Regions from separate parts of the Homo sapiens genome. Here region 2 is linked to region 1. The links are contacts of gene promoters, found by promoter capture Hi-C in blood cells and fetal thymus (Javierre and others, 2016). All regions are on one chromosome and are shown on one strand. Each heading gives the region's core, a stretch centred on a gene start or on the middle of the fragment in contact. The rest is flanking DNA. Distances are from core to core; before and after follow the strand shown.

Region 1 (3,689 bases), core at 905-3,404:
GGCTCATGCCTGTAATCCCAGCACTTTGGGAGGCTGAGGTGGGCAGATCACTTGAGCCCTGGAGTTCCAGACCAGCCCGGGCAACATAGGGAGACCCTGTCTCTACAAAAAATTTAAAAATTAGCCGGCATGGTGGTGTATGCCTGTGGTCCCAGCCACTCAGGAGGCTGAGGCAGGAGGATCACTTGAGCCCAGGAAGTCGAAGCTGCAGTGAGCCGTAACTTGTGCCACTGCACTCCAGCCTGGGTGACAGAGTGAGACCCTGCCTCAAATATAAAGAAAGAAAGAAAGAAAAATAAAGAAAATAGAAGACGGTTGTGTTACAGAGAATGAGACTGCAGGGATAGAGGCCTGGAAGTCTCTCCATCACATTCCAATGGAGGAAGCAGACAGGGAGTGAGTGCACGCTTAAACAATAATAAACAAAGTAATGTTATGAGGTGGGATTTTAATGTGGCTTCTAAGAGGTAACCTGTGCGAGCGGATGAAATTGAGCCAGACTTGGTTGGGTGGGTCCATACAGAAGAGAGGAGAGGGCTCGGGACCCAGCTGTGGGCACAGGAATCAGAGAACAGGAGAATGGGGTTAAGCAGAATTGCAGTCCACGCAGAAAGTTCCCTCCATTTTCTTTGGCAGTGGCTGGATTCTCACCCTGCCTCCCACCTGAAGACCAGAGGCAGGAGGGAGGCCCAGGGGCTCTGTGTGGGCTTGCTGTGGCCTGGCCTGCGTGACTCGGCAAGAATGGGCAGGACATACCTTCCTGGAGGCATGCCCTAGGGGAAGCGTCCATAGAGCTGCCTGGGTGGCTGGCTCCATCCCTATCCCCTCAGCTTGGATGCAGTAACCTGCAGGGCAGAAGCTCTGTTGAAGCTCTGTCGAATCCTCACAGAGGCCTGTGAGGATTTCCCACCCACCTTCTCTGCTCCTGGGTCCCCTGCTTTGGTGGCTCTTACTGGGAACCGCAGGCGATCTTCCTTTGGACACTGTCTCTGTTTATGCTAAAATTCAAGCTGTGTTGAGCTAATGCCTTATCTACCAAGATTGTGGAGGTCATGGATAAAAAGATACCCTGCAAGATGGACAGATACTCTGGTGAATAGAGTCCTTTCCAACTTCACCAAATTCACTCACCAGAATCATCCGCAGACAGTATTTTCAGAGCATTCCTGAAGTAGAGGTATTGTCATGGCGAGGTGCGGTGGTAACTGGGGAAAGGGCTCCTTAGCATGGTGTGCTGGTCACTGTGGAACAGCTGGCTCTCCAGGGGGAAAGAGCCCCGGGTCATAGCATTTGCTGATAAATATTCCCACCAGTTCACCTCACATGAATTGGGGAGCCTGGGCAGCGCAGACGGGCACTATCCTACCCCAGGTGGTAACTCAGTCCCAGGAGAGCTGTGTGGCCCTGCCCATGAGACTCCAGAGGACTCCAGAAGAATCCCACTGCCAGATCAGGGTCACAGAACAATGCCGGACAGGCAGAGCGGGCACTGTGCAGGGCCAGGGGGTCTGGGAGAGCGTCAGAAGCTGCTAGGGCCTGTCCTCCCGGAACTGGGCCACTGTGGGCCTTTCATCTCCCGCCTCCCTTTCCGCGCCACTCCTGCGGCTGCCTGCCTCTGCCCCTTCCCACCCCACCACCCCCAGTGCGGCAATTACGGCGCTAATTAGGCTGCTTTGATCATCTTTAGAAATGGCCACATTGGGGAGGGACTCTGCCAAGCAATTAGGGGCAGAGGGGTGGGGAGCTCCAGGGCTTCCTCAGGGGGTGGGGCTGCTGAGAAACCCCAGACACCCCCTGCCCTCCTCCCTCCAGGAGTGTCTGCCCCGTCATAGCTGTAAGCTCCTCAGGGGGTAGAGGCAGATGGGGATCCCCCCCCATCCCAGCCCTGGAGCCAGGGCCCGCCCCCACCCAGCAGCCCCCCTCTGCCTGGCCTGCAGCCCAACCGTCAGCCCTTCTTCCCTGTCTTGGCCCCTTTGATGGAGCCGCAGAAACAAGGGCTCCTTTGACAGAAGGGGGGCTCGGAGCTGGGATGATGAGACTTCAGAGGTGAAGGTCAAGCCCACTACCCCACTCCTCCCCCAGTCTTGGCCACCCTCCCGTGCACCCCTCCCCCAGGCTGTCCTCTATAAAGACCCTGCAGCCCCATTCCCCTGTGGGCTCCTAGGAGTTAAGGGCCAGGTGAGGGCTGACCAGGGAGGCGGGTAATTTTGATGTAAGAGAACGGGGTCAGATGATTTGAGGGACAAGAATTCAGTGCCCGGGGGCCGAAAGGCAGCAGAAGGCGGGCACCAAAGGATAGGCACCCGGAAGGTGGACTCCGAGGAGGAGAGAGGACAGGGGTCTCTCACCCCAGCTCCTGGTCACCATGCTGCTGGCTGTGCTGCTGCTGCTACCCCTCCCAAGCTCATGGTTTGCCCACGGGCACCCACTGTACACACGCCTGCCCCCCAGCGCCCTGCAAGGTAAGTCCAGGCTGGCCCGAGAGCCGCGGGGTTGGGAGGAATGTAGAGGAAGTGGGACCCTGGGCGGGCGGGGACAGAAGAGCTTGTCACCCCCACTCATAAGGACCTTTGGCTCCTTCTGCCCACCCTGCTGCGAGAAGGGGCCAAGAACTGAGATATAGGTGGGAGAGGAGGGGTGTGGCGGGAAAGGGAAGGGGAGCTGTTGAGCATGCCGAAAGGAATGGAGAGAAGGCCCCAAGAAGCAGAGAGAAACGGCCCGGGGCAGCACCCTGCCCTTGGCTGTCCCGGCCGAAGGTGGGCCACTCAAACACAGCTACTTTCAGTCAATAAAGCTGAGTTCTGCGATGTCTGTATCTTTGGGGTGGTGTCTTTAAAAAAAATTGTTAAGGAAAAGCACCTTTCAAAGATCCCAGTCCAGCTCAGTTGAATTAGGGAGACATCTTGGGCTGAGAACCTGGGAGCACGGGCTCTGAGTGCTGGGCCCAGCGTCCCCGGGGCTCACTTGCCTCCTCATTCTGTCCCAGGCTGGTGGGTCTCCCGAGGCAGGGCTCAGGGCTGGGGCCAGGAGGATGAGGCTGAGGCTCTTCCCCAACCACGCATGATTGTGTGCCCCCTGTCCCAGCAGTTCTGTCGGCCCAGGGGACTCAGGCGTTGCAGGCAGCCCAGAGGAGCGCCCAGTGGGCAATAAACCGAGTGGCGATGGAGATCCAGCACAGATCGCACGAGTGCCGAGGTGCCCACCCTGCCCCCCGTGCCCCAGTGAGCTTGCTGCCTACCCTGGGCCCATTCTGCTGCCTCTGTCCCTTCCCTTCAGTCTTCACTCTCCTCTTGGGGGCAGAGACTGTGTTGGGCCGCAACCTAGACTACGTTTGTGAAGGTCTGTCTCTCCGAGTGGAAAGGACACGCTAGGCTTGGGGCATGGCCTGTGCAAAGGCAGGGAGGCGGAAACACTCTGGGCTCCTGTGGTGACCAGGAGAAGTTCATGGTTGCTGAAATAGAACCCGTGTGGGCTGGAGGGCTGAGCGCGAAAGGAGAGATGGGGAGAGAGAGGCTCGGCCCAGCCTGGGGTGAGGACAGGCGAGAGGGCAGCAGTGAGACTCAAAGGTCTGTTTCTCTGCAGGATCTGGGCGCCCCAGGCCTCAAGCTCTCCTCCAGGACCCACCTGAGCCAGGTGAGGTTGAAAAGGCTCGAGGGGGCAGGCCTGAGAGCCGGGTGGGCCTCGAAGGC
Region 2 (3,838 bases), core at 685-3,184, 640 kb before region 1:
CTGCAAAGAGACCTTATTACCCCCTTTTTGGGATCTCAAACTCTGAGAGCACTCCTGTTGGTCACCCAGAGCCTCATGATACCTAAGGATTTTAGAACAGTAGACTGTCAGTGTTTGGGCAGCTGGCCAGACACAGGAACAAAGCCTGTCCTCAGGATTCCAGCAGAGACCTGCTCGAGGCCGCGGAATGTTGGGGTTTTCCACTCAGATGTTGACAGTGCTTTCTCACTCTGTACCAGCGTGAAGGCAAAAGCTTTCTCTAGAGCATTTTCTTCTGCTGAGAGGGGCAATGAGTGTGAGGGTGTTTTTGTAACTGAGTGACAGTGCTGAATTTGTAACTTAAACCCCTGCCCTCCCAGGTGCACGCAGGTGCATGATTGGAATATGCACACACTCATATGCTCTGACACACACTTTTTTTTTTTTTGAGACAGGGTTTTGCTCTGTTGCTGAGGCTAGAGGCTAGAGTGCAGTGGCGCAATCACAGCTCACTGCCACCTTGACATTCCGGAATCAAGTGATCTTCCCACCTCAGCCTCCTGAATAGGTGGGACCGTAGCATGTGCCATCACACTTGGCTAATTTGTTTGTATTTTTTGTGTAGTGACGGGGGTCTCACTATGTTGCCCAGGCTGGTCTTGAACTCCTGGGTTCCAGTGATCTTCCGGCCTCAGCTTCCCAAAGTGCTGGGATTACAGGTGTGAGCCCCCATGCCCCGCCCTGTCTTTAAATTAGATTATTAAATTAAAAGCATTTCAAAGCAGAAAACAATGTGGCTTTTTAGACTAAGTTTCTGAACTTGTCTCTTGTTGGCTGAGGACAGTCACTTGTACAAAGACATCAGGATTCACACAGGGCCCTGCCCTGCCCCACCCTCTTGACCCCACTCAGGCCACCACCAACCCCTTAACCGACATACACACCTGTTCCTCTTTGGTGCAGAAGAGAGACAGTAGAATCAAGAGATGGGAAGTGACTCAAGGTCTCCCATCCACTCTCGTCATTTTAAAAATCCATGTGTGTAAGGATTTTGTTGTAATTCTCCTTCCAGGTTTCCTACTTTAGAAAATATACTCCGGGCTGGCCGGGCGTGGTAGCTGACGTCTGTAATCTCAGCACTTTGGGAGGCCGAGGCAGGCGGATCACCTGAGGTCAGGAGTTTGAGACCAGCATGGCCAACACGGAAAAACCTCGTCTCTACTAAAAATACAAAAATTAGCCAGATGTGGTGGCGGGCACCTGTAATCCCAGCTACTTGGGAGGCTGCGGCAGGAGAATCGATTGATCCCAGGAGGCAGAGATTGCAATGAGCTGAGACCGTGCCACTGCACTCCAGCCTGGGTGACACAGCTAGACTCTGTTACAAAATTAAAAAAAAAAAGAAAGAAAATATACTCCGGGCTTCTCCCACGATTATTTCCTTCCACGATAGGAGCTCCTTTTCCGGTCAGTCTACTTGCTGAGAATGTTAACTGCATACAATTATGATAGTCACGGCCTTTTTTTTTTTTTTTTCTGATGTTGATCTCCAGGTTCAGCGATTGGAGATTGGATTTCAAAGAGAAGAGACTCAAATGCAATAATGCTGCCAGAAGACATAGCTCCCTCCCTGAGTTGGAATCAGTGAGATGTGTGACAGGAAAGACTGTTGACAGTAGGGCTTGATATGTGTTTCAAGAGCGAAATGAAAACTATCCTCCATAGTTCTCAGCTGTAGATCACTAAACCATAGGATTTTCTTTCTTTTTTTTTTCTTGAGATGGAGTCTCACTCTGTTGCCCAGGCTGGAGTGCAGTGGCACGATTGTGGCTCACTGCAAGCTCCACCTCCCAGGTTCATGCCATTCTCCTGCCTCAGCCTCCTGGGTTGCTGGGACTACAGGCACCCGCCACCATGCCCAGCTAATTTTTTGTATTTTTAGTAGAGACGGGGTTTCACCATGTTAGCCAGGATGGTCTCAAGCTCCTGACCTTGTGATCTGCCCGCCTCAGCCTCCCAAAGTGCTGGGACTACAGGCACCCACCACCATGCCCGGCTAATTTTTTGTATTTTTAGTAGAGACAGGGTTTCACCGTGTTAGCCAGGATGGTCTCGATCTCCTGACCTTGTGATCCACCCACCTCAGCCTCCCAGAGTGCTGGGATTACAGGTGTGAGCCACTGTGCCCGGCCAACCGTAGGATTTTCTTAAGGAGCAAACACTCAGTGGGCATTGAGGGTATAGGCCAATGGGCTCTCTCAGATGTTTCTGGGATCAACTGGTAAAATCCCTTTACCCCAAATGGGGAAGCCATTTGGCATGAACGCTGATGTTTTAACTTTTTGACCCACTAATTTCTAGGAATACTATCCTAAGAAAATAATTCTAAACATGGGAAAAGCTCAATGTCCAATTATTTTCAATATAACTTTTATTTCTTTTCTTTTCTTTTTTTTTTTTTTTTTTTTTGAGTTGGAGTCTCGCTTTGTCATCCAGGCTGGAGTGCAATCTTGGCTCACTGAAACCTCTGCATCCCGGGTTCAAGTGACTCTCCTGCCTCAGCCTCCTGAGTAGCTGGGACCACAGGCATGCACCACCATGCCCAGCTAATTTTTGTATTTTTAACAGAGACAGGGTTTCACCATGTTGGCCAGGCTGGTCTGGAACTCCTGACCTCAAATGATCCACTTGCCTTGGCCTCCCAAACTGTGCTGGGATTACAGGCATGAGTCACCGTGCCCGGCCTATAACACTGTTATAGAGGGGCATAAAAGCAGAAACAATCGAGTTGTACATGTGCCTGGGGTTTGGTAAATATTTAATTACTTGTACTCTACATTGTTTTCTCCCATTGCGAGGAACAATGATTCACATAGGGCTTGTTTCTAGGATGCCAAGCCTGAGACAGGAAAGCTGCCCAGACCAAGTCACCCTGGGGTCTCTGTCCTTCCTCCAGGGCCTTCCTGCAGGTCTCACCCCACAACTACTCCCCTTTCTTTGTGTGTCTGCTCTAACCTTCATTTGTTCCTGCATGTGGCCAGGACCCAAGATCCATTGCCTCTTTCTTCCTAGCTAACAAAACCCTCTCCCTGTCTCTGCCCCCGCCTCCCTTTCTGGAATCTGCAGCCCAAATGTGCTGGGTGCTGATTCTCATGTTTTCTCCCCTCTCTCTGTAGCTCTGGGACAGAACTGAACATTCCTTCAAATGCCATCTGAAGACAAAATCAAAACTGCTTTCAAATTCTTTTAAAACCATTACATAAAATATAAATTGCTTGTCAACTTCATAAATAGCGAGAAGCAATGAATCGGCTGTCCATTTGCTAAATTCATCAAATTGGTCATTCAGAGAAACTGGTAAAAAGAATTATAAAAACGCTAAATATTGGCAAAACAGAAAATGACTTTTAAAATAATTCAAGAGAAATCAGTATAAACTGAAAGATTCTTGTATCGAATATGTTATGAATTTGGAATATCATTATATAAAGAGTGTGATCAGAAAAAAGCTAAGTTGACCCTCTCATTCTCAACAATTTAAACATTTCTTAAAATGCCAGTAAGATAGTAAAGAATAATATTAAATATGTAAAAAGCATATTCCCTAAAATGGTGACTGGAAAATCAGTGTACTGACTAAGCTTGGTGAGTTGGTCATGTAGTGACCAATTGATAAAAGATGGATTCTCGTGGAATTTATTGTGAAACCCACCACTGACTTGCCCTAAGAAAGTCATGGGTAGTTTCTCTCTCTCTGGGTGGGTTTGTGTGTGTGTGTATATGTGTGTGTGTCTCCAACTCTGTCTGTCTCCCTGTATCTCTCTGTCTGTCTCTATGTCTCTATTTCCCTCTGTCTCTC

What was found. The method cuts DNA at HindIII sites, captures the fragments that hold promoters and counts their contacts. A CHiCAGO score of 5 or more calls a contact.
Region 2: a fragment that was not itself captured here is called in contact with the fragment with the promoter of PRSS56 in region 1 in 1 of 17 cell types (endothelial precursors); the score reaches 6.1 in endothelial precursors.

What each region holds. Positions count from the first base shown.
Region 1 is chr2:232,518,234-232,521,922 of GRCh38, forward strand. PRSS56 (serine protease 56) reads left to right here and starts at 2,155. Exons shown (of 13, transcript NM_001195129.2): 1 at 2,155-2,462; 2 at 3,088-3,195; 3 at 3,583-3,633. The coding sequence starts at 2,366. The HindIII fragment of the contact is 25,422 bases long and covers 1-3,689 here.
Region 2 is chr2:231,877,826-231,881,663 of GRCh38, forward strand. No RefSeq gene overlaps it. Among named protein-coding and RNA genes, the nearest start is that of MIR1471, 13 kb to the right of the region's middle. The HindIII fragment of the contact is 3,367 bases long and covers 252-3,618 here.